Linked DNA regions of Homo sapiens: region 2 is linked to region 1. Evidence: promoter capture Hi-C in human tissues and cell types (Jung and others, 2019). All regions are on one chromosome and are shown on one strand. Each heading gives the region's core, a stretch centred on a gene start or on the middle of the fragment in contact. The rest is flanking DNA. Distances are from core to core; before and after follow the strand shown. Region 1 holds the start of EPHX3 (epoxide hydrolase 3). Region 2 overlaps NOTCH3 (notch receptor 3).

Region 1 (2,700 bases), core at 142-2,641:
CCCGCCTCGGCCTCCCAAAGTGCTGGGATTACAGGCGTGAGCCACCGCGCCTGGCCAGAAGCTGGCTTCTTGCAGGGACAGCAGGGCCGCAAGGCTCTGTGACTCTAGGCCCCATCACACCCGGCCCTGTCCCACTTCCTCTTTCGGCCAGAACCCCAGAACTCCAGTCATTCATAGGCCGGGTCCTCCTCGGGGGAACCAGGCCTGCCCCCTAGGAATCAGGGTATCCACGCCTCCTCGGCCCGCTCTCGGAGCCTGGGCCTCAACACCTGCAGATTGGCTCCCGGGCCAGGACCTGTCGCTTGAACATCAGTGGCCGCCGCCGTCCAATCACAGACGTACAGGGGCGGGCTGGCGGGCCTGTTGGGCCAGCAGGAGGACGGCGCCGGGCCGAGGCCGCTGGACCCGCCGTTGGAACCACAGCTGGGTGAAGTCAGTGCTGCTAGGTCTTTGGAGCCAGACCGAAGGGAGGGTCGCGCGCCCCTGGGTGGGTAGCACCAGGCGGCGGCCGTCGGCCGGGCCTCCCGAAGCCTCCTCCAGCCGCTAATACCGCCCGCGCCTCCCTCCTAGTCCTAGACCTGGCATTGCCTGTCCCTCTTCTTCGTCTTCCAGACCCTCCTGACCCGCCATATTAGGTCCCGGCCCCGCCCTCCGTCTCATTGCCCATTGCCCACCCCACCCCACCGCCCCCTCCCCGGCCTACCGTCAGCTCATTGGCCCAGGCTCCCGCCTTCTTCGCCCAATGTTAGGCCTCACCTCCTCTAGGATCCACCCTCTCCCCGCCCACCCGCATAAGCCAGGCCCACCATTCCAACTCTTTCTCCTTTTTGGCTTGTAGGCCGCACCTACTCTGCATATGCCCCGCCCCTCACTCCAGGTGTCGCCCACTTAACTGAAGATCCAGGATCCCCTCCTTAAGGTTTGTCTGGGCTCGGAATTGCCTTTTTTTTTTTTCTTTTTTGAGACGGAGTTTCCCTGTTGTGACCCAGGCTGGAGTACAGTGGCGCGATCTCAGCTCACTGCAACCTCCACGTCCCGGGTTCAAGCGATTCTCCTGCCTCAGCCTCCCAAGTAGCTGGGACTACAGGCGCCCGCCACCACGCCCAGCTAATTTTTGTATTTTTAGTAGAGACGGGGTTTCACCACGTTGCCCAGGCTGGTCTCGAGCTCTTGATCTCAGGTGATCCGCCCGCCTCGGCCTACCAAAGTGCTGGGATTACAGGCGTGAGCCACCGCACCCGGCCCGGAATTGCCGCCTTTAGACCCTCACCCACCCGCTGCTGAGTCTTCCTGGGCCCCGCCCCGGCCCTAAGCCCCGCACAGGACCTGCTAGGCCCCGCCCATTTATTTCCCCCCTTTCCAACCTCTTCCTCCCCAGCCTCCGCACCCTACCCTTGTTTCCTGTCCCTGTCGCGCCCAGGTGTTTACCTGGCACTCAGGTGAGTGGTGCGCTCTGGCTGTTTTCTGTCGGAGCCGCCCGCCTCTTCCTTCAGCGCGTCCCACAAATCCCGACGGCACGGAGGGGCCCCAGGCCAAGGGCGATGGGCCCCTGAGCCCTGACACCGCTTCGCCGCTGCTGCAGGTGCCCCTGGCCGGCAGCGCCGCCGTGGTCCCGGAGCGCGGCGACATGCCGGAGCTGGTGGTGACCGCGCTGCTGGCGCCGTCGCGCCTGTCGCTGAAGCTGCTGCGCGCCTTCATGTGGAGCCTGGTGTTCTCGGTGGCGCTGGTGGCCGCGGCGGTCTACGGCTGCATAGCGCTCACGCACGTGCTGTGCCGGCCCCGGCGCGGCTGCTGCGGGCGCCGTCGGAGCGCGTCCCCCGCCTGCCTGAGCGACCCCTCGCTGGGTGAGCACGGTTTCCTGAACCTCAAGGTGATCGCACGGGGGCGCTATCGGGGCTGCGGGGTCGCGTGGGGTCGAGACGGTTCAAGCCTCGGGAGAGAGGGTTCCCCAGGCTTCAGGCTGTGCCCTCCCCCTAGAGCTCGGGCCTGCGTCTGCACTATGTCTCGGCTGGACGAGGTAACGGACCCCTCATGCTGTTTCTGCACGGCTTCCCTGAGAACTGGTACGTCTGGGGCCAGGGGCCTGAGGCCCACGGGACTCGGGGGCAGGTGGAGCTTGGGCTCCCAAGAGGCAGGGAGGAGGGCTGTATAGATCGGGACAAGCTGAACATAGATGGGGATAGGGGTACTGAGCCAGCATACCCAGGATCCCTAGGCCCTGAAGGGACAGGACAAAGGGGTATTGAGGTTGATTGAAGTTCCCTGGATTCAGGGTGTAGCTGGCTTCAGCCTCAGCCTCTGCCTCTGCCTGGGATTCCCCATCCTCCTTTTAGGGGAAGTTTAGAGCAGGAAGGAGGGTTTGCCAATGGTTGCTGATGTGCGTAGGGTGCAGGTGCAACCTGAGGGCCCTGACTCAGCCTCCCTCCCTCGCCCGCCTGGCAGGTTCTCCTGGCGTTACCAGCTCCGGGAGTTCCAGAGCCGCTTCCATGTTGTGGCTGTGGACTTGCGAGGCTATGGCCCCTCGGATGCACCTCGGGATGTGGACTGCTACACAATCGACCTGCTGCTGGTGGACATCAAAGATGTCATCCTAGGCCTGGGTGCAGACATACCCCCATCCTAGGCGTGGCCTCCCTCATCCTGCACACACGCATACCCCCGCTTTCTCCTTGCTGGAACCTACTTCCCCCATCCCTGCTT
Region 2 (2,700 bases), core at 201-2,700, 43 kb after region 1:
GTGCACACCTGTAATCCAAGTCTCTCAGGAGGCTAAGGCACGAGAGTAGCTTGAACCCAGGAGGTGGAGATTGCAGTGAGCCAAGATTGCACCACTGCACTCTAGCCTGGGTGACAGAGTGAGACTCCTTCTCAAATTTAAAAAATAAAAAAAAGATTATGCTAGGCCGGGCACAGTGGCTCATGCCTGTAATCCCAGCACTTTGGGAGGCCAAGATGGGAGGATCGCTTGGGCCCAGGACTTTGAGACCAGCCTGGACAACATAGTGAGTTTTTGTCATCTCTACAAAAACTTGGTAGGCTGGGTGTGGTGGCTCACGCCTGTAACCCCAACACATTGGGAGGCCCAGGCGGGTAGATTGCTTGAGCTCAGCAGTTTGAGACCAGCCTGGGCAACATGGCAAAACCCTATCTCTACCAAAAATACAAAAAATTAGCTGGGCATGGTAGCGCATGCCTGTAGTCCCAGCTACTCTGGATGCTAAGGTTGAAGGATGGCTTGAGCCCAGAAGGTGGAGGTTGCAGTGAGCTGAGACTGAGCCACTGCGTTCCAGCCTGGGAGACAGTGTAAGACCGTGTATAACAAAAAAGAGAGAGAAAAAAAGATGATGCTGGAGGCAGCTTTAGTGGGGAAGTGTAAGCCTGGGAGAGGCTTGGGAGGAGGCTGACATTGCACTGATGCATGGCTCAGGGCAGAAGCCATTGGAATGGGGAACTCCTGGGAGTTACCTTTGGAAGTGGCAAAGATCAGAGAACATGTTTAGGAGGGGAACGTGGATATAGAAAGAGGGCATACATGGCAGAGGGTATTACAGAAGCAAAGGCTGGAGTGTAGGACCCTTTTGTAATCAGAAGAGTCAAAAGGTTTTAAAACAATATGTGGATGTTTGCAATTTATTTTATTTTATTTTTGAGACAGAGTCTCACTTTGTCACCCAGGCTGGAGTACAGTGGCATGATCTCAGCTCACTGCAGCCTCGACTTCCTGGGCTCAAGTGATCCTCCCACCTCAGTCCCCCAAGTAGCTGGGATTACAGGCGTGCGCCACCATGCCCGGCTAAGCTTTGTATTTTTTGTAGAGACGGGTCTCACTATATTGCCCAGGCTGGTCTTGAACTCTTGAACTCAAGCGATGCACTCACCTTGGCCTCCCAAAGTGCTAGGATTATAGACGTGAGCCACTGTGCCCGGTCTGCAATTTATTTTTAAATGGTTTAGAAAAGAAGATTGGTAGATTAAGCTAACAATAGTTGAATCTAGGTGGTGGGTATATGAATGGTCAACTTTTCTGTATGTTTGATAGTTCTCATAATAAATGGATTAAAAAAGCAGCTACTAAATACTGTTTAGGTTTAATAAAAACAACAGGCCGGGCGCGGTGGCTCACGCCTGTAATCCCAGCACTTTGGGAGGCTGAGGCAGGCAGATCACCTGAGGTCAGGAGTTTGAGACCAACCTGGCTAACTTGGTGAAACCCCGTTTCTACTAAAAATACAAAAAATTAGCCGGGCGTGGTGGCACATGCCTGTAATCCCAGCTACTCGGGAGGCTGAGCAGGAGAATCGCTTGAACCTGGGAGGTGGAGGTTACAGTGAGCCAAGATCGCGCTATTGTACTCCAGCTTGGGCAACAAGAGCGAAACTTCGTCTCAAAAAACAAAACAAAACAACAACAACGACAAAACAATACTCAAGGGGTGTGGGCCTTTTGGGCAGAGCAGGAAGATCTGCCTATGACTTCTGCTTACCACTTCCCAGGCCTCCTGTGTCACCTGGATGACGCCTGTGTCAGCAACCCCTGCCACGAGGATGCTATCTGTGACACAAATCCGGTGAACGGCCGGGCCATTTGCACCTGTCCTCCCGGCTTCACGGGTGGGGCATGTGACCAGGATGTGGACGAGTGCTCTATCGGTGAGGGGAGCTCCATCGTCTGTGAATGGGCTGGGAAAGAGGGGAGAGGAGGGGGTCCCGGCCAGCCACGCCCACACCGATCGCACTCCATCCGGCAGGCGCCAACCCCTGCGAGCACTTGGGCAGGTGCGTGAACACGCAGGGCTCCTTCCTGTGCCAGTGCGGTCGTGGCTACACTGGACCTCGCTGTGAGACCGATGTCAACGAGTGTCTGTCGGGGCCCTGCCGAAACCAGGCCACGTGCCTCGACCGCATAGGCCAGTTCACCTGTATCTGTATGGCAGGTGGGTGGTGGGCGTGGCCTGGGCGGGTCCTGAGGCAGGGGGCGGGGACAGAGAAGCCCGCGGATGGGGAGCTGAGCAGAATGGGGTGTAAGTGGGTTTGGAGTGGGACCCTTAGAGACTGAAGCCTGGAAGGAGGTGGGGTCAGGACCAGAAGGGAATACTGTGTGATTCTGGGGGCTTGGTCAAATGGAGTCAGTAGAACCTCAGGTGGGCTGGGAGTATTCTTGGCCTTAGGACCCACTCGGGAAGGGGTTGGGGATAGAGAGGCAGAGTCGGGGCTGCTGTGAGGTCAAGGTGAAGCCTGCAGACAAGCTTGCAGTAAGCCTGGGCAAAGGCTATGGGGGGCCCTGGGGCTGGGGGCTGGGGACTGGGGAAAGGGCTTAGTCTGAGGACTGGGGAGAGGAGGAGGGGTTTGAAGGCAAGGCCTCTGCGGACACCCATGAGCCTTGGGCCAGTTGGGACCACGGCTGGGTGACAGTCCAGCCTGTGGCTGAAAATTAAGGT

Evidence for each region. The method cuts DNA at HindIII sites, captures the fragments that hold promoters and counts their contacts. A contact is called where the count stands out against the background at its distance.
Region 2: a contact is called between a fragment that was not itself captured here and the fragment with the promoter of EPHX3 in region 1, in 5 of the 25 tissues and cell types used here (IMR-90 fibroblasts, dorsolateral prefrontal cortex, heart right ventricle and 2 more).

The regions. Positions count from the first base shown.
Region 1 is chr19:15,231,139-15,233,838 of GRCh38, reverse strand. EPHX3 (epoxide hydrolase 3) reads left to right here and starts at 1,391. Exons shown (of 7, transcript NM_024794.3): 1 at 1,391-1,870; 2 at 1,978-2,063; 3 at 2,443-2,600. The coding sequence starts at 1,628. RefSeq lists a silencer at 642-801 and an enhancer at 1,140-1,641. The HindIII fragment of the contact is 16,546 bases long and covers 1-2,700 here.
Region 2 is chr19:15,188,485-15,191,184 of GRCh38, reverse strand. It overlaps NOTCH3 (notch receptor 3), which reads left to right. Exons shown (of 33, transcript NM_000435.3): 7 at 1,757-1,912; 8 at 2,011-2,196. Among named protein-coding and RNA genes, the nearest start is that of MIR6795, 10 kb to the right of the region's middle. The HindIII fragment of the contact is 6,552 bases long and covers 1-2,700 here.